Regions from separate parts of the Homo sapiens genome. Here regions 1, 2, 4, 5, 6 and 7 are each linked to region 3. Evidence: promoter capture Hi-C in 16 types of primary human blood cells and fetal thymus (Javierre and others, 2016). All regions are on one chromosome and are shown on one strand. Each heading gives the region's core, a stretch centred on a gene start or on the middle of the fragment in contact. The rest is flanking DNA. Distances are from core to core; before and after follow the strand shown.

Region 1 (2,700 bases), core at 65-2,564, 4.2 Mb before region 3:
GGTGTTTTCACTTTGACAAAAGTAGGAATTATAGGGTCCATTGATGTAAATTATTTGCAGGCTGGAAGATGCTCTGAGATGTTTAATTTTATGTATAGCAGAGTTTCATGTGTAAATAGATTTAATAAGATACTATTAAAGTAGTGTAAATTTTTTCATACATAAATGAAATCAACTTGGAAAAATTGACATTTAAAATTTTAAGTGTCCACTCACTTCTGTTATTTTCATGCACAAATGAGGATAGTGCAGAGGATATTTTTATTGGAATTTGGCCTTACATTTTTTTCAATTGCTTAATGCACTATAATTGTAACATAGACATATTACGTATGACAATTAACAGACTTAATTCAGCTATTTGTAAACTGGTAAGTTCTTAAAATAGGCTTTGGTGATCATATAGTGTTTTTATATCTAGATCAAGAGATACTGTCCCTTAGTGTTGCATACTGTTAAAAAAAATTTTGTCAACTTCTTTAACCTGAACTTGGAAAGGTATTTAAGTACATTTTATTTAAAACAGTACTATAATAGACAAAAGAAAGTTTCTATTTTTAGGACCAGCAAAGTATTTATTAGCAAAGACTATTATGTGAATAAGGCTACCATTTTATTTTTGTTTATATATCCATATACTCTAAAGTAAAATGAATCATTCCGTCTTTAAGTTGTCTAGTTCTGGTTTTAGAAGATTGTTCTCCAGAAACAGGCAATCAGTATTCTATAATAAGGTGTAGAAATTGCAAAGACTGTCATTCTTTTTTGAATCTCTGTATCTCAAAATTGTGAGTAGTTTTAGGTGGTCAGAAGAGAAATTATAAGCTCTGGATAGCAAACACTTTGTTCTTTGACCCAAATTTTATATACTAAAATTAAAGTAAGCCTTCAGGGTAAGTTAAAGCAGAAAAATGGGTCATAATAACAGTGTTATCTCAGCCTCTAGTGAGGGATTATTATTAGAAGAGACTTAATATTAAAGATTACAGTGTAGACTATACACTTTTCTCTAAACTTATTAAAAAAAAACTAATCTCAAGTCACACATAATTTCCAGTCTTCCATCAGACTACCTTCTTGCTGTCACCTCTGTCATTCTATTTTCTCTCTTGTTCTCTCCCTGATCAGTAGGGTATACGTAATATATTTTATTCACATAGTTGGGAATAGGAGCAGTGAAGAATAGGCAGTTTATTGCACATATGCTAAGACGTCTTTGACTGACTTTCATGGCATTAAGGTCAGAGGCCTCTGCCATTCTCTTTTTACTCTCCAGCCCTCAATCCTCTTTCACAAGTTTTGCGAGGTACTGGGTGGAGAAAGTCTGCAGAAACATTTGTTTTACAGTAATGCATATGCATATCCTTCATCTCACACAGGAATGAGAAATTCTTTTATGCTGATAGGCCAGAGGAGTGTTGGAGCAACAAGCCATCTTTCTGAAAGATTGTGACCCCAAGTTTAGGTCGAAACCACTACCCTGCCAGAACTGTTCTCTAGAAACAAAAGTATTACAGGCTCTGAACTAAGTAACTACCAGTGAGTGGTCTGCAGCCATTTAGTTTAGAGCCTGCTATACTTTTCCAAAAAGTCCGATTACACGGTAATGCATTGATAGTAAAAGAAAATGTGTAAAACATAAAAAGGGAAGAGATGTTTGCAAGAAAAAAAAATTACCTGTAATCTGCCGTCTACTGTTGGTTACTATAATAATTCAGTGAGTCTACTTCCAGGGTGTGTTTTCTCGTACACAAGCTCACTTGCCCTGTCTCTCTGACACACACACACACACACACACACACACTCTCTCTCTCTCCATTTTAAAGCAAAAATAGAGTCGGGTGTGGTGGTGCATGCAGATACTCTGGAGGCTGAGGTGGAAGGATTGCTTGATCTCAGGAGGTCGAGGCTGCAGTGAGCCATGATCGTGCCACTGCACTCCAGCCTGGGTGACAGAGCGAGACCCCATCTTGAATGAATGAGTGAACGGAATGAATGAATGAGTGAACGGAATGAATGAATGAATCATTCTCTGCCTTCTGGGTAGTAACCCTGGTTTTTAGCATGTTGTGTACTTTAATGTCGTTAATGCTGGACTGCTTTCCTACACAACAGTCATATCTCAACAGTTCAACAGTCGTATCTCCCCTTTGAAAAGCCTTAATAGTATTGCATTTCTCACAGAAACCCTGTTTTATTAAACTAATTTTGGAAATTTAAGCACAGGAATATCAAGTAATTTGCTCAAAGCCACATAGCCAGTGAGAGGTAGAGCCAGAATTCAAACCCAAGGAGCTTGGTTCCAGAGCCCATTCTCTTTAGCCATAATACTGTTTTGCCATGAAAAAACTATCTTTCAAAGAAACTAATGGAATGAAAGTGCTAAGAATACATAGAATAAACAAATAGGTATAATTCAGAAACACAACTTGGGGAAAACAGTGCAATATTAAGTGATGTGTTTGAAGAAGCAGCTACATTCCAGACCAAACAATTCATAGTAGGGGTGGTTTTGCTTATTTTAGGCGGAGTTAAGAAATGTCTGGCAGTAACACATAGCATAGCCCAGTGCCTGTCCGTGGCAGGGGGTGATTTCAGGAAGAAACTGTTCCACCTCAGATCATCAGGCATTAAGAGTCTCATAAGGAGCGCACAACCTAGATCCCTCATGTGGACATTTCACAATAAGATTCTCACTCC
Region 2 (2,700 bases), core at 159-2,658, 4.2 Mb before region 3:
GAGCTCGGCTGCAGAGGTGAAAGCAGAATCCAGGCCGTATTCGGCCAGGTTGCCCTTTCCACTGTTCAAGGTTTGTTTTTGATCCCCATACTGTAGCATAGTTGGTCATATTGTTGTGAGTAGCAAAGAGTTTCACTTTCTGCTTGCAGGAGTCAACGACATAAACATCATTTATGATAATGCTTGTTTCAGCAATATTTGTGGACAAAATAACCTTGGTTACTCCAACTGGTACTGGATCAAACACTTTGCGCTGTTCCTGTCAAGGAATCTGAGAATGCAGAGGTAGAATCTGATACTGATGGCTTCCAAAATGTGGATTCATTTCCAAATGCTTCTGCATAGTATAAATCAAATTCCAGCCAGGCAAAAATACCAACACAGCTCTGGGAATATTAAGGGTTTCAATGTACTTAAAGAGAGCTTCGACGAGTTCAAAAGGAGTTTCTTTTTCATTCAATTGAGACATGCTCATCCTTGTTTCTGGACCATATTCATCACCACAGATCAAGTTGCAATTTGCATCATCATCCTCACCACCATCATCATCCTTGTCCTTCTTCTTGGTTTTCGGTGAAGGAACAAAGTGGGTCATCTGAATGCAGTCTTCCAGAAAATATTCTTGAACTGGGTAAGTCCTCCCATACACTTAAATGATGGGGCAATTGAAGAAATATTCACACAACATGCTGGTATCAATAGAAGTGGACATAAGAACAATGAGAACTTCAGGGTAAGCTGAAACAACTTCACGCAGTACTACCAAAAGGAAGTCAGTATTAATGTCTCTTCCATGTATTTCATCTACAATTACATGACTGATTCCTCAAATGCCTGCTTCTAATTTTCTTAGGAGCACACCTACAGTACAAAGCATTATACTGGCATGAGGACAAGGAAGTACAGACTCAAATTGAACACTGTAACCACAGCTTTTTACAGACTCTTCTCCTCTCTCAAATGCAACTCACTCTGCCATGGAAACTACACTGATTCTTCTGGGCTGAGTTACTACAATGTTACACTCTGCTGTCAGTCATTCTGGATAAAGTCATCTAGAATGAACTGGGGAACCTGCGTGGTTTTACCACATCCAGCAGCCCCTCTAATAATGACAACTGAATTTTGACTGATTGCTTCCAGAATCTCACTTTCAAATTTCTTCACAGGCAGTAACTCTCGCTCCTGCAAGATTGCTGGCAAATCATGATCCTGTTCCAACTGGTACACCAATTCATTCTTGAGGTCCAAGCTTATTTGCTCTGGAGAAGCAAAAGCCAGAGGTCCCTCAGCAATGTCGCTAGTAGTCCAAGGATTCCATCTGGATTGTGGAGGTGACCGAGGAACTATACCCACTTGGTTTTGTCACTGAGATGGTTCAAAGTGAGCCAATTTGCCAATGTTGAGTGCAACTGGCATAGAAGGATCTTCAGGCGGGGGCATAATCTCAAAATTTAGCTCTCAAATGATGTTTTGTGGCTGATGCTCTAAATCTTGAGAGAGGTTTACTTTGTAAGGTTCCACTCTCTCTCCTTCCTTCTTTGTAAGTCTGAAGTAAGCTTCAACCACTCCAAGATGGTAGAGTTGTCTGACTAGTGACAGGGCACAGGACTGTGCTGCCAATTTCTTATTTGATCCATGTTCATGTGCAGAAATCCTTCTGCCCAGCTGCTTGATGTAAATGGTTATTTCTGCAGTAAAGCTCCTGTTGTGATCAGGACCCACTTGGGTGTACTTATATTCTCCTTGGATTTTTTCTTTCTGAAAATATTGGTTTAGATGAGTTTTAGCATTTTCCAAGGTCCAGTTTCCATGAAGCCCAGCATTTAAATCCACTTCTTCTGACTCTAGAGTCGCTTGCACTTCTTGTTCTTCCTTTCTTGAGTAGTAATCCTTCAAGTTGGCTCCTTGGTCCCAGGAACACCATAGCCAGAGGCCCCTACCTCAGAATTATTTTCAGCTTTGAGAGCCAGATGTGGCGGAAGAGGACCTCCCATGGTTGTTGGTAAACCTCCTTCAGCATTTGCTGTAGTGTCAGGAATATCAGTAAGTGGGGGCAGAGATGCAACCCCAAAAAGCTGGAACTTCTTCACTCTTCATTTATTTGAACCAAATAGTTAACAAAGTCTCTGGCAGCATTGCTCTGTGCATCTTTTTTATTGGTGGAATTTCCTATGCCACTGTAATTATACCCTTCCACCTGAACCTCACACAAGAATTTCTGCCTACTTTTGTTCCCCAATGCTCTAATTTCATAGGATGGAGTCATCTTCCTTTTGCCTCACCAGGCATACAGAAAATTTTTAATATCACCCATGATTGAAGTGTCTTCTTCAGATCAGCCTATGCTTCCTGGTTCCCAGCTCTTAGGACCGTGTGGCTCTGGCCTTCCACAAAGACAACAGAGACACGCACAACAACTTCCATAAAGGACTTGGCAAAAAAAAAAAAATTAAGTAGAAAAGAAAGGAGGTTGTTATGACACTTTATGATTTACTGTGGTTTGAGAGAAGTACTGTTTTCTGGTAATTTTGAGGCTGGTTTTATCAGTCCAGGCTAATGAATACGAGGGCAGATTAAAGTCCAAGCTAATTTTTAGTTTCTCATTTACAATCTCATTTTTTATTTTAGGCGTTAAAAGCATTATTCTGAGAAGGGGCTTCACCAGTTTGCCTAAGAGCTCCGGCCCTAGACACACTA
Region 3 (2,700 bases), core at 135-2,634:
AGTTAAGTTAATGCTCAAATCAAACACATTAATTCCTAATATGAAGTCAGCCTTCGAGAAACTTAAAAAAACAGTTCCTGCGGGGAGGAATCTTACTTGGAGGAAACAAAGAAATGTACAAGATGAAGAAAAAAGCCCATTATAATCAAGAATGGCACCACTAAAACCAACACATGCTCAAAGATAACAGAAATCACGTCTGAGTTGGTCAGGGAAACGTTACACAGAGGTAGCACTTAGAATCTTTAAAGATTTGGACAGGCATGGTAAAAAGGAGAAATCATGCAGTTATTAATGATACGTAAGTGGAAGTAAAAAAACAAAGCCAAGTCTTGGAATAGTTACTCCTTTCACCGCCCCCCCAACACAAACACAAACACACACACACACACACACACACACACACACGCCCTTAACGATCAAGACTGGAAGGCCTTAAATGTCAAAATAGGGTTGGATTTTATTCTACAGGCAATGAGGCATCATTGAAGATGTTTTAAATAGGGAAAACGGGGACAAAAACATTTTTTATAGATAGCAGAATGAAAACAACAGGATATAAGAAAAATTCAAGAAATTCTAAATAGAACTTACTTCTAACTCTCTCATAAGAATGTTAGCAACTACCTTGTTTTAATACCTCATGATATAACAAATTATGCTATTAAATATTTCAGTTTTTCTAAACTGAATGATAAGGAAAGGTGTGTGGAGGGGAAACAGCGAGAACTATACTAAGATCGGCCTCCCTCCTTCTTTTTGAAGGGAAATAGGTAAGAAAAAGTGAATTCAAAGACAAATTCTCTCCTCGATTACAAAGGGCCCGAGACGGGGACTGCCTATACACTCGGCGTGAAAATTAAGCCCCAAACTTGGCAGCTCGGGGGATTCCTTGCCCCACGCGGGAAAGAAAGCGATGATAGTCGCAAGTTACCTCGAAAGTGTCAATTACTCCACACTGAAGCCTTGACCAGCAGCCAGTGCAGACACCGAGGGACCAAAGGCGTCTCCGGTCGGAAGCACAAGGTTGCAGGCCCTCAACAAGGGATTTCAAGGCAGGGGACCGTTAGGACCCGTAACCAAGACAACCATCTCCGCACCCGCAAGGAGGACAGAACCAGCACTCCCACAAGCCGCCGGAAGTCAACTCTCCCGGATGTTCCGAGGAGCGGAAAGCAACACACGTTGTGAGGTGGCGTCCAGAAGGAAGCCCCGCCTAGGCCACGGGCGGAAATGGCTCCTCGCCTTGCTTTGCCGCCCCTCCCCACTCTCGCCCAATCCCCGCGGCCGTCAGAGAGCCAACCAATGTTTATCTCGGCATTTTCCCGCGAGAAGTGTTACTAATATCCGGGAATGGAAAGGGAAGAACCTCCGGGGTTAGGCGTATTCTAGATTGACGCCTTTTGCTGGAAGAGCGCTGCTGGGGTTAGGATTCTGCGCGGCGAGGCAAGATGCTCAAGTCCAAGACGTTCTTAAAAAAGACCCGGGCGGGCGGCGTGATGAAGATCGTGCGCGAGCACTACCTGCGAGACGACATCGGCTGCGGTGCGCCCGGGTGCGCAGCGTGTGGAGGGGCGCACGAGGGGCCGGCCCTGGAGCCGCAGCCCCAGGACCCGGCGAGCAGCGTCTGCCCGCAACCGCACTACTTGCTGCCCGACACTAATGTGTTACTGCACCAGGTGCGTGGGCGGGCGAACCGCGGACAGCGCGGCCCCACGGGGACAAGGGGGTATGACAGGGAAACTGAGGCCCAGGGAGGCGGGTCTTTGGCAGTGTCACATACCTAGCGAAAGGGAAACCCCCTCGGGACCGAAGCTTCCTGTTCCCCAGGCCGAGGTTCTTTTCCTTGTGCTTTAAAAAATTTAGTTCTTGGAGTCGTAGTTCAGACACGTTATTTTTCTAACTCCTGGTGTCTCTTCTGCCTTAGATTGTAAGTGCCTGGAGGCCGGGGACCTGGGCTTCTGTGGCCTCCAGCCTGCGACTCCCAGGCAGCTTGTAAGTGCCTAGGAACAAAAAACTATGTGGGCCAACGTATTCCTTTATTAATACCCTTAATTCTACGAAGTCTTGTGATTGGTCTGTTTAAGTGTGCTTTTTTTAATAGATCTGAAGGGTTTAGTGACTATTGTCTCGTTTTCTATAGCCAAATAGCTTCTTGGCTTAACTTATTCAGTGTTTTTAAAACATAAAGTATTTATGCCCAACATAAAACAGGATTTTATGTTTGACAGAGCTATTTACAAATGAATATAGGAAAAATTAACTTTATCTTTCTTTAAGATTGATGTTCTTGAGGACCCTGCCATCAGGAATGTAATTGTGCTACAAACAGTTCTTCAAGAAGTGAGAAATCGCAGTGCCCCCGTATATAAACGCATCCGAGATGTGACTAATAACCAAGAGAAGCATTTCTATACTTTCACTAATGAGCACCATAGGTAGGAGGAATATTACGTTAAATATCAGAAAACCACAGGATTAGCAAAATTCGGGAGAGGGTTCCTGTGAGTAATTTATGACATTGTCAGAAGATAAGTGATAGATTTCATACCTTATTTAATTCTTACATGGCTGTGCAGAAGATAATGCTAAGTGGATCTCTCTAAGGTCACACAGGCATTGATGGGCTCAAGCCTAAAACCAAGGTCTGCTGACTCCTAGACTACAATAGGTACTTTAATTTCCAAAATGTTTTCATTT
Region 4 (2,700 bases), core at 170-2,669, 4.4 Mb before region 3:
TGATTTTCTTACTAATTTCAAATGTTGTAAAAGAATAAAATTTGTCTTGGAGAAGTGAGATTGCAGGGAAGATGGGGAGGACTATAGATGCAGGCCTGGTTGATATATTGTAGTCTCATAAGACTGATAAAATGAGTTGGAAAATTCCCTACTGTTGGTAAATTTTCACCTTTAGCTAAAATACCAAATAATAACTTGCTCATATAATATTTACTATATTTTTAACATTATTGAAAAATTTTAACTTACAATAATTTAAGCATGTATAAAGGCATATGCCTGTGTTTACCTTATTTATTTCTAGACTACTGCAATACTTTTAGAATAAAGAATTCAAATGGATATAAACCGTTACTGAAAAATGTTGTCATTCGTTAAGCAGTAAAAAATCAAAGGAAATGGTCTAGAACTGTGATTCTATCTCCCTATCTTTCTTTCTGGTAATCACTTTGTGGTTACAAACATTATTTTTCCCCAAAAGGTTTTTTCGTTTGTTTGGTTTTTATGCACCGTGCAATCTGTTATAGTTACTGTTTGTAATATGTAGCTCTACAAACATAACGTGTTGCATTGGACTACTCCCAGGTACTCACTGGTTGAATAACTTTTAAATAACAGCATTAATAGTAGCATTACTAGAGAATATAAGTTATATGTTATATACATTATATATGTTCTCTAAGAAGAGGAAAAAGCCTCTACTACTCGGTCTTGCGAAGGTAGGATTTAAAGGAAGTGCCCATATGCTAAAAACTTTGTTTAGCTTGGAAAAATGTTTCAAAAAAGCCCTGTATTGGCATTACCTGGCAAAAAAATTTAAATATATAATTTATTTTCCCATTCAAAAATGTATAATATACTTTAAAAAGAAAAAATGACATTGGACTTTCTAACATAATTTTATATGTGTCTACTGCCTTTAGACTTCCAACCAGTGATGGCAGTGCTTCAAAAGGCAAACAGCAAACCAGTGAACCTGTACACATTTTAAAGAGGTCTTTTGCAAGAACTGTCTCAGTGGTAAGCCATGTTTTAAAAAATTTCAGCTTTTCTCTTCAGTCCTCAGATACATTTTGATGTTTAGAGTTTAGCTGCTCTTGTAAGTTTATCTTAGCCTAGATTTATAAACTCAGATTTGGTTTTGTATTCACATTTATATTCTAGACCACAGATAAAGTATACTTTAAATCATAGAAAAATGGAGGTGTTGGCCTATGATTTTAACATGACCAGATGAATTGGCCTTGCTGTTTTTGAAACAAATAACGATTTGCTTTTCTAGTAAATCATATATGAATGCATATGCTGAATGAATTAGAAAATGAAGGAAAAGTTAAGGATGGTGCTGGCCCAAAAAAGCGTGATTACTACTTGAGGAACTAGGTGGAAGAGTTGCATATCTAACTAGGAAGTTTGTTGAACCACTTGCCATCCCCATTGTACACATGAAGAAGCACAGTGCCATTGAGGTTAACAGTGCAGAATGGAAAGTCAACATGATGTAAATAAATGAAAGTATAAATTAAGGTCTTGATCTCTCATGTATTAATTGAGGATTCTTACGTATGTTACCTAAGTAAATTACATCATAGCATTTTGAATTTCTAATGAGATAAGGGGTGTAAGATGTTTTTGGAACTGTAAGGCACCATCTGAATGTGATTTATTAATATAGCTAGTAGTCTTTCATATTAGTAAAATGCATAGGAAGAATGTTTCTTTCCCTTTTAAATTTATTTTTCAACCCACCAAGTGAATATATATTCCTGGTAGGAATGAGATAAAAGTATCCTAAAAGTATATGAAAGATTTTTCTCCCATTCTCATGATCACCATATATACCTACTATTTACATTTTGGTGTGTATCTTCCCAGACCTTTTTTTTTTTTTTTTTTTGGTGAGGCAGAGTCTCGCTCTGTCGCCCAGGCTGGAGTGCAGTGGCACGATCTTGGCTCACTGCAACCTCCGCGTCCTGAGTTCAAGCAATTCTCCTGCCTCAGCCTCCTGAGTAGCTGGGATTACAGGCGCCTGCCACCACGCCCAGCTAATTTTTGTATTTTTAGTAGAGAGGGGGTTTCACCATGTTGGTGGTGGTCTCGAACCCCTGACCTCGAACAGGCTGGTCTCGAACCCCTGACCTCATGACCCACCCGCCTCGGCCTCCCAAAGTGCTGGGATTACAGGTGTGAGCCACCGCACCCGGCCTTCCCAGACCATTTTTATATGCAAAAAAACTTATTAGTACGTATCAAATACAGGATGCTCTACAACATGCTTGCTTGTTTCTTACGATACTTACAGTTTTCATCTTTTTTAGAAAATTTCGTATTATATATCATGGACATCCTTCCCTGGCAGTACATTTGGCTCTGTCAGTCTTCTCCGTTTGCGTACCATTATTCTAATTTATTCAATCTGATATCTATCAAAGAACCACTTTGATTCTCATTTTTTGTTATTTCATCTTGCTTCATGAGCATCTATACACATACATCTTTAAATACTTGTGTACTTATGTGCATACTTCTACTGGAAATATGCCCATTTAAAGTTTGGTATATCCTCTCAAAGTTGACCTTCCAAAAGAGCCATGGCAGTTTGTAGAGCTTGTGCTTTGAATAAAAGACTATGAGAACTTTGGCTTCTTGGTAACTTTGCATCCTATTAGTCTTAAGTTGAGTTTGGTATCTTTTGATTCA
Region 5 (2,700 bases), core at 146-2,645, 4.2 Mb before region 3:
GAAGAAGTACTAATTCCTGACCAAAAGTATAGTTTGGAGCAGATTCACTGGGAAGTGTCCAAGCATCTTGGTAGGGTGTGGTTTCCCGACATGATGCCCACTTGGTAAAAACTGCATGATGAATAGCACCTTAATTTCAAGCAAATGTATTATAATTAAAGTTTTATTTGCTGTAGTTCTGATATAATTCTACTATTTTGTGGCACAGAAATTTGATATCTTCAGTCAGTATATGTAAAGATTGTTTATCGGAAGACCCATGAATGAGTTTTGGTCAGAAAATTCCACTTGTTTCCTTAGTGTAATAGCAGTCATATCTCCGAATTTTTTTTAATGTGGTTCGGATGTGAAATAACCAGTTATACGTATTAAACAGTTTACAGTCTAAAGGAAACAAAACCTATATGTTATAATATCCAAGAAGTACTAATAGGTTTTCTGAAATGTTATATTCTCTATGCATTTAAAAAAAAATGTAAACTTGACATTTTAGGGTCTTCAGTTACACATACACCTGTTATAAGGTGTTTAATATAGCTCAGGAAAGTGAGCATTTTGTGAGAAAAATGAATATATCATATCTAATGGAAAAGATTGGATGAATGTTCTCAAATGTTACAAAGCTGTTTAAAGAAAAAGGTATATATAAGTAATCAGAACACTTAGAAGACTGATAGATGTCACACAGTGGTATTATAGAAGGATAATACAGAGCCAAGATCAAATTAAAAGACAATAAATGGAACAGAAGGGAGGCAGTGTTTAGCTTTGTATAAACTTTTAGGTTTGCTCTGTAATCTGCTAAACCATATACATTCTTTTGTGATATGTTATTATGTATGTGGCACTTGAGGCACTGTATGTAAAGTAAGGAATGCTTTACTAGTTCTCCTTGGTTTTATCTTTGTTTAAACTAGCTTTAAAGTATTAAACAATAATTGAAATGAAAAGCTTACCTATTTTAAAAAGCCAAATTTAAATAAATATAGAACTTTAAAATGTTTATCAGTTGTTTCCATGAAAGAATATTAGTTTCCAGTAAATTTTAGTGATGGCTCACTCACTTTTCTATTTTGGAATTACATAGTTATGTAAGTAAAATTTTTAAAAATCATAAAGGGAGCACCATTGTACAGTCTAGCATAAACAGCAAATTTTAAAGAGGACATATTTAAGTTCATAATCATATTTTTCAGTAAATATTGCTCAGTGAACTGGAAAACTTTAATAGAAAAATGTCTGCAGTTTTGTGATTGTTAATTTGGTTAAACCGATATTTTATATTATTTAAGTTAGGTAACATTTTATATTACTTTCATATGAATAAAAGTAATCCATGCATTGTAGAGTCTATAAAATGTTGAGTTTTAAAAGATGATATAAACTTTGATGCTGGGCACTAGTGCTAGTAGATATTACTACCCTCCTGAGGGAAATCAGAAATGATTTAACCCCGGTGGAATACATTAATTCTTAAAGCGGCTCTTTTCAGTGGTGTGACTTTTAGATTGTGTCTCAGTGGTTGAGGAAGCTAACAGTCTTAGATCTACTTTTAAAACGGATGGCCTTCTTAAGAATAAAGCAAAAGGTGATTTTCTACATAATTTTTGCTTTCCAAAAGTGATGATATGCTCTCCTACAGCAACATATGAGAAGAAAAAAGGCTTATCTAGATTCGAAAATTAACAGCAATTATAGTAATATATCCCCTCCTTCTAAATAGTAAAAAGCTCTGATTGTACAAGAATTACCTGTGCTAGTCAAGTTGTTGTTTTTCCTTGAACAACTTTGGAAAAATGGATTTGACAGTACATAATCAGTTCTACTAACCAAAGCTTGTATTTGGAAATTTACTTTTTGTACAAATTGAATTATATAATGCTTAAAATACTTTGTCACTTTATAAGCAAAATGCATAGTACTTAATTTGTTTATACTGTAAAGTATATGTTAAATGCTTTTATCACTTTGAGAATAAAAAGTTACTAATGCTGTTGTATTTTACTTTTTAAAAACTACACAAACATTTGACTTTAAACTTAAAAATGTTTCAAATCCATATTTGATGGATATAATATTTAATATTAAACAATGTTTATGATAGACTCGCCTTTTTGAAGATACAAGGTTAGGCTCATGGAATCTATTCTTGAAATAAGCTCTGATGCCTAAAGAAATAGGAAATTTAAAACCTACCATGAAATATAAATTTTTAAATTTTTATACAGAAAATAATAGGTTCTTTCTGCATTCAGAATGAGAACTTATAAAACAGATTATTTAGACATAGAATCAGTCTTTAAGGGTCCTTGAACCCAACCAGTCTTTTTAGAGATAAATGTCTTTATATAAATTAGAATAGTTTTTCAACTATTGAAATTATTTTCATTGTTTTACTGGCTTTCAACTTATCTTGGTAATTTGGGCTGTTGTAACCATATCAGAAAAAATAGGTATGATTGAAGATTAAGTCAATTTAGTGCATTTTAAGAACTTTAGGCTGAAAGGAAGACGTTCATGTGAAGAAGGTTCAAGCCTCCACTAGGTCCTTTAAAATTTTTTTTTTTTACACTAGGTCCTTTAACACACTATAATTTCTACCCCACACATAGATAGTAATGAGCTTTGCACAGACTCCAACCCCAGTTTGTGGGGCTGGTTTTAATTTTACCAGGCAGGAAAATTCCAGCTGCTTGCTGA
Region 6 (2,700 bases), core at 55-2,554, 4.4 Mb before region 3:
TCAGAAATAGAATAGAAATAGCAGGCAGCAAATAGCTATGTAGTTCATTGTTGCTGCTGAAATACAAAAGCTGTCTAGTCTTTTGCCCCAGTCAAGAAAAGCTTTCTGTTACATAAGCACTACAATAAATAGTACATTATTCTCTTTCTTAAACTATGGATTAAAAACTCTGTTATGCGTAAGAGTTACGTGTTTCAGAAAGCTGGAGAGCCACTAAGAGCATCTGCCATCCAAACTTTATATCTTATACAAAATACAGTGTTTTGAGTATTTTCATGTTTTCTATTAAGCTTTAAATACCCTTAGCTTTACATTTTTTATAAATGAAAAATGTTAAAGTCCTTTAGTTTTAAATACCATCCTGCTCTGATAGCTCCCAAGTTTACATCCCTAGCCTTCATGACCTCTGAGCCCTGGACTCCGGGTCTCTCTTCTGACATCTTCATTTGGATGACACTAGTGGAGATGGTGTTAGTTACTGTGTGCCAGGACATGCTTTGAGTATGTTACCTGTGTTATTTCACCTTGTCCTCACAGTAACCCCAGGAGGTAGGTACTTTCCTTATCCCTGTTTCACAGATGATGGAACTGAGACGCTGAATTGTCTAGAGTCACACCTCTGTTAAGTTACGCTACTGCGACTTGTAGGCAGGAAGTCAGATTTCAGGTGATACACCCTTAACCAGAATGCTGCACTTTCTCTTTAAGGATGTTCGTTATAGTTGGCTAGTAGACATCTGAGGTTTCATGTGGCTAGAATATTCATCTCCCTTCCACAGTTACAGCCAGACACCTTGGAGTCATTCTGGACTTCTCTTTCCCTCATACTTTACACCTAGTTCATCAAGAAGTCCTGTCAGCTGTACTTCTAAAATGTCCTAAATGTGACCTTTTCTTCTACTTCCATATTTAATAGTCTAGACCAAGCCACTGCAACCTCTACCTGCTAACTGTAATAAGCCTCTAAACTAGTCTCCCTCCTTTCACTATTGGTCTCCTACAATCAGTTCTCTACAGCACAGCCAGAGTGATCTGATAAAAATATAAATCATACCAAGTTCCACCCTTGCTCCAAACCCAGCTTCCCATTCTCATACCAGTATAAAATGTAAAGTCATTATGTGGCCTACAAACCTTACACAATTTGACTCTTGTTTCCCTTCCCACCCATCACGCTTCACTCTTTCTCCTTTTCTTCCAGCCATACATGTCTTCATTCTGTTCCTTTAATTCACCAGTATGTTCCTTTTGCCCTGACAGTTTTCCCTCAGCTCTTCGCGTGGGTCTTTAAAAAAAAAAAAAAATTCAGGTCAGCTGGGTGCGCGGCTCACTCCTATAATCCCAGCACTTTGGGAGTCCAAGATGGGTGGATCACGAGGTCAGGAGTTTGAGACCAGCCTGGCCAACGTGGTGAAACCCCATCTCTACTAAAAACAGAAAAATTAGCTGGGCGTGGTGGTGCATGCCTATAATCCCAGCTATTTGGGAGGCCGAGGGAGGAGAATCGCTTGAACCTGGGAGGCGGAGGTTGCAGTGAGCCGAGATCATGCCACTGCACTCCAGCCTGGGCGACAGAGCAAGACTCTGTCTCAAATAAGTAAATAATTTAATTAATTAATTCAGGTCTTTGTTAAATATGAGTTCCTCGGAGAACTGATCTTATTTAAAATAACACCCTTCACTTTATGCCCTATGCTGCTTTGTTTTTCTTCAAAGCCCTTATCATTCCCTATTATTGTATAGTTGCATGTTTACTTTTTTAACTTTTAAAAAGCTATAAATTAAATGAGGATCTCAGATCTAGATATGATTTCTGGCACTGGATCATGTTTTACTTACCATTGTAAAATAATCTCATGTTTGCTCATGCTACAGGAGTGAATTTGATGGAGATTTACAATCCCAACTTCTGAGTAAAGCCAATGAAGAAGATAAAAACTGTAGCAGAGCATTGTCTGTTGTAAGCACTGTCGTTCGAGCCTCTAAGGACCTCCTGCACAGAGCTCTTGCTGTGGATGGTAATATTTTTTCTTTCTCAGTAGTCATATTTTAGATTCTTTATTCACTAAATTTTTGCATAGAATTATTGAAGAGGAGCCTTCTATTATACAATTTTATAGAATCTAAGTGTTATTTATAGATCCACCCATGGATTAATTTTGGATAGGTCACACTCTCCATACTGTAATGCAGAATTATTTAGAATGCTCAAAAGGAGTTACCATATATTCTTATTTTCTTAGTTAATTTAGTAAAAGAAAAATTGTATTTGAGTTAAACTGGGTCTTTATTCTTCTTTTAGTAATCAAAAAGCTTTTTCTTCCTCTCTGTTCTTTTTCCAGTAATGTATCGCTATCCACCCAAAACTCTGGGGTACCCTAACCATCTCCTCAGAGGCACTTGTCTAAATTCAGCTCTATGAGTTTTTCCATTGGAATCTCTCTAGTTTGTATTCTCCTCTCTTTCACTTCTTCTCCTGCTGTCATTTAGACTGCCATGGTGCAAGTACATTTCATTTTTTAATATAGGGTTAATATCCCGATAATCTCACTGCTGCCTTTCCCCCATTCTCCATCTAGTTGTTTAGTTATTCTTCACACTGGCAGCAGAGTTATCATTATGAAAACATGGTTATGGCCGGACATGGTGGCTCATGCCTGTAATCCCAGCACTTTGGGAGGCCGAGGAAGGCAGATCATG
Region 7 (2,700 bases), core at 89-2,588, 4.9 Mb before region 3:
TTCCGATGCCACCCGAGGAGGAAGAGCACGCAAATCCTGTCCAGCGTTCGTTTAAAACGAAAGAACAGTAACAGTCGCAGACAGAGGCCAACCCCTACCATCCCCCGTCATCCCTCCGAAAACACTGGGGAAAAGAGCAGCACTGAGCAAAAAGACAAGATGACATGGATTTTGCACTTAATGCTAACGAGGAGCTTGGGACCCAACAATCAGCAAATAGCAGAACCCATGGCAGATGGGGGGAAGGGGGGGCCGGTTCATCCGCAGTCGGAGCGATTAGAAAACAGGTTTCTGCCTTCATGAGAAGCCTCATCGTGGGAAGTGTCACCGCCTGGCTCAACACCTGCTGGGTCGGCCCCTCCGGGAGCCGCGGGGAGTCACCCCGGCTGCCGCGAGGGGACCCCCGTCCGCCCCCCGCCCCCGCTCCCCGGTGCCCGAAGCCCCCGAGGCCAGGGTCTCGGGGAAGGAGCGGAGCCAGGCAGTACCAGGTGTAGTCGTCCTCGTCCCGCCAGGCGGCTACGCTCTCCAGATCCAGCAATTCCACCTCGTCCAGCAGCGTGGGGGGCGGCGAGGGCGGCGCTGCAGCTGCCCCTGGCGGCGTCCCCGCGCCCCCCGGCTCCGGCCCGCCACCGCCCGCGCCGAAGAAGCCTGCTGCCGGCTTGAAGTAGACGAAGGGCGCCTCGGGTGGCTGCGCCAGGCTGCAAAGCAGGGAGGGCGCGGGGCTAGGCAGGCAGAAGGTGCCCGGGAACGCGGGGCTGGAGCCACCGCCGCTGCCACTACCGCTGCCGCCACCGCCCCCCGCGCCCAGCGCCAGCCCGAGCCCCAGGCCCCCTGAGGCCGCGGCGGTGGCCGTGGCGGCCGGGGGGCTCCGAGGACCCAAAGGCTGCAGGCCAGCGGGGGGCGGCGCGGCGGGCGGCGGCGGCGGCAGCAGCAGCAGGTGCGGGGCGGCGGCCGCGCTGGCCGCTCGACTCCGCAGCTGCTCGTTCTGCTTCTCCAGCTTGCGCACCAGCTCCTGCAGCTTCTTCACCTCCAGCTCCGCGTTCACCACCGGCCCGGAGCCCGCTCCAGAGCTGACCCCTGCCGAGGCGCATTTCACCTGCTCCGCCATCATCGTGGGCCCCGAGGGCGCCGCGGCCGCCGGGGAGTGCGCGCCGCCGCGCCGGCTCCTCGGGCCACGGGGAGGCTACGGCTCCTTCCCTGTCGCCCCGGCCTGGGGGGCCGACCACGCGCGGGCTGAGGCCGAGCCGGCGGTTCGCATCAGCACCGGGCCCTCGCCTCCGGCCGCGGCAGCCACCACCGAGCTGATCTGCACATGCTCAGTGCGTCCCTCCAGTCCCCTGGGCGTCGCGGCGGCTCCGGGTTTTAGCCGCGGCCCCGGAGCGGGGCGGGGCAAGAGCGCCGAGGGGGCGGGTGGGGGGGGGGGGGCGGAGAACCGTGGGGAAGCCCACCCAGGGGGCGGGGCCGGCAGCCCGGGTTGGGGCCGGGGAGCCGCACCCACCCTCGCTACCTAATCCCAGGGGCCTGATTGGACCTGGCCTGAACTTTCCCGCCACAAGCACCTCCTCCTGCCGCTTGGTGGGACAGTGAACTGCGCGGGTCTCTGAGGCGGTTGCGGGGACCAGGGGGTTCCCAAAGAAGCAGCTGCAGGTGCTGGCCCTCGAGTAGTGCACCACCGGCCCGCTGGTTTGCTCCCTTCCCAGCTCTCTGTTAGGCTCCGTGACAGCACTTAATAGCCACTGGCTAACGAATCCTATAGAAAACTTAAAGGCTGGGGATCGTTATTCTAAAAACCGAAAAGTGGAGATAGGGGGAACAGAAAGGCTTTGGGACCATGCCACTCATGTTCTCATTGGTAATAGAGAAGCAAAATGGTGGGAGACAGGAGACCGAGAAGAAAGAGAAGAAAGCCCTCTCTCTAAGAGGTAGAGTGGCCAGCTGCTAAGGAGACAAGTGTTTACTTATTTATTCTAAAATAGTCAAATTTGAACTGTTACCATCATTGTTTGTCACAATAAAAGAAGAACTGCTTTTTTTTTCATACTATGTATATTCATGCATTCCCCAAACAAAAGATCTTTGAGCACCTACTCTGTGCCAGGAACCATTCTAAGAGCTCGTGATGCGGGCAATGAGTACAATAGGCAAAAATGGTTATGGGGAGAAATATGAGTAAAATTGTTTAGTGCTCCTTCTATTAAATAATGTGTAAGTTATTAAAGTCAGACTTGCTGGTGGGAAAGCAGAAAACAGAAAACCTCAGAATTCTACCCAATACACTTTAATCTCACCTGCAAACCTGCTATTTCTTACCACTTGGAAAACGAGCAAATCTGCTTTTTTTAAAAGAGGCTTTTAAGCAGAAGAATTTAATCGAGTTGTGTTCAATGAATACTGACTGACTTAGCATTTTGAGTGTTTAACACAATCAGAGGAAAACCTGAGATTATATTATGAGAAAAATCTACACCACTGGTTCTCATCCTCAGATGATATACTATCTAGTGAAAGTCCTTGCTAGGGACTTTACATACCAATCTTTGTGACAATGTACCTCATTTCTCTGGAGCTGCTAACACATCGTATCTATTGGTTTCAGATATGGTTTTGTGTCTTCCTGCTCAGAAACACTTGTATCTTCTCAGTTGTTAATCTACATCTCTAGCTTCTGTGTGCAGGGTGGATGTTCTGCATTTAACATGC

Evidence for each region. Contacts are between HindIII fragments. The CHiCAGO score rates a contact against its expected background, and 5 or more counts as called.
Region 1: a contact is called between a fragment that was not itself captured here and the fragment with the promoter of DIS3 in region 3, in 3 of 17 cell types (naive B cells, total B cells and naive CD8 T cells). The highest score is 5.4, in naive B cells.
Region 2: a fragment that was not itself captured here is called in contact with the fragment with the promoter of DIS3 in region 3 in 1 of 17 cell types (naive B cells); the score reaches 7.1 in naive B cells.
Region 4: a contact is called between a fragment that was not itself captured here and the fragment with the promoter of DIS3 in region 3, in 1 of 17 cell types (total B cells). The highest score is 5.6, in total B cells.
Region 5: a contact is called between a fragment that was not itself captured here and the fragment with the promoter of DIS3 in region 3, in 4 of 17 cell types (total B cells, naive B cells, monocytes and 1 more). The highest score is 14.3, in total B cells.
Region 6: a contact is called between a fragment that was not itself captured here and the fragment with the promoter of DIS3 in region 3, in 1 of 17 cell types (naive B cells). The highest score is 5.7, in naive B cells.
Region 7: the fragment with the promoter of SLAIN1 here is called in contact with the fragment with the promoter of DIS3 in region 3 in 1 of 17 cell types (non-activated CD4 T cells); the score reaches 8.5 in non-activated CD4 T cells.

Annotation. Positions count from the first base shown.
Region 1 is chr13:77,022,450-77,025,149 of GRCh38, reverse strand. All of the region lies in intron 1 of FBXL3 (F-box and leucine rich repeat protein 3), which reads left to right. Among named protein-coding and RNA genes, the nearest start is that of FBXL3, 3.4 kb to the left of the region's middle. The HindIII fragment of the contact is 2,888 bases long and covers 1-2,700 here.
Region 2 is chr13:76,984,485-76,987,184 of GRCh38, reverse strand. It overlaps the pseudogene DHX9P1. Among named protein-coding and RNA genes, the nearest start is that of CLN5, 6.2 kb to the left of the region's middle. The HindIII fragment of the contact is 307 bases long and covers 1,255-1,561 here.
Region 3 is chr13:72,780,584-72,783,283 of GRCh38, reverse strand. It overlaps DIS3 (DIS3 exosome endoribonuclease and 3''-5'' exoribonuclease), which reads left to right and starts at 1,384. Exons shown (of 21, transcript NM_014953.5): 1 at 1,384-1,679; 2 at 2,281-2,438. The coding sequence starts at 1,452. PIBF1 (progesterone immunomodulatory binding factor 1) reads right to left here and starts at 1,151. Exons shown (of 18, transcript NM_006346.4): 1 at 935-1,151. RefSeq lists enhancers at 1,251-1,360, 1,278-2,192 and a silencer at 1,641-1,690. The HindIII fragment of the contact is 4,441 bases long and covers 1-1,817 here.
Region 4 is chr13:77,187,271-77,189,970 of GRCh38, reverse strand. MYCBP2 (MYC binding protein 2) reads left to right here. Exons shown (of 83, transcript NM_015057.5): 30 at 924-1,020. Among named protein-coding and RNA genes, the nearest start is that of MYCBP2-AS2, 110 kb to the right of the region's middle. The HindIII fragment of the contact is 4,220 bases long and covers 1-2,700 here.
Region 5 is chr13:77,004,553-77,007,252 of GRCh38, reverse strand. CLN5 (CLN5 lysosomal BMP synthase) reads right to left here. Exons shown (of 4, transcript NM_006493.4): 4 at 2,136-2,700. It overlaps FBXL3 (F-box and leucine rich repeat protein 3), which reads left to right. Exons shown (of 5, transcript NM_012158.4): 5 at 1-1,993. The coding sequence ends at 108. Among named protein-coding and RNA genes, the nearest start is that of CLN5, 14 kb to the right of the region's middle. The HindIII fragment of the contact is 884 bases long and covers 954-1,837 here.
Region 6 is chr13:77,170,810-77,173,509 of GRCh38, reverse strand. It overlaps MYCBP2 (MYC binding protein 2), which reads left to right. Exons shown (of 83, transcript NM_015057.5): 38 at 1,876-2,018. Among named protein-coding and RNA genes, the nearest start is that of MYCBP2-AS2, 91 kb to the right of the region's middle. The HindIII fragment of the contact is 2,023 bases long and covers 293-2,315 here.
Region 7 is chr13:77,696,325-77,699,024 of GRCh38, reverse strand. SLAIN1 (SLAIN motif family member 1) reads right to left here and starts at 1,338. Exons shown (of 7, transcript NM_001242868.2): 1 at 486-1,338. The coding sequence starts at 1,111. It overlaps MIR3665 (microRNA 3665), which reads left to right and starts at 909; the gene lies at 909-1,013. RefSeq lists silencers at 271-420, 581-820, 1,021-1,580. The HindIII fragment of the contact is 5,751 bases long and covers 1-2,700 here.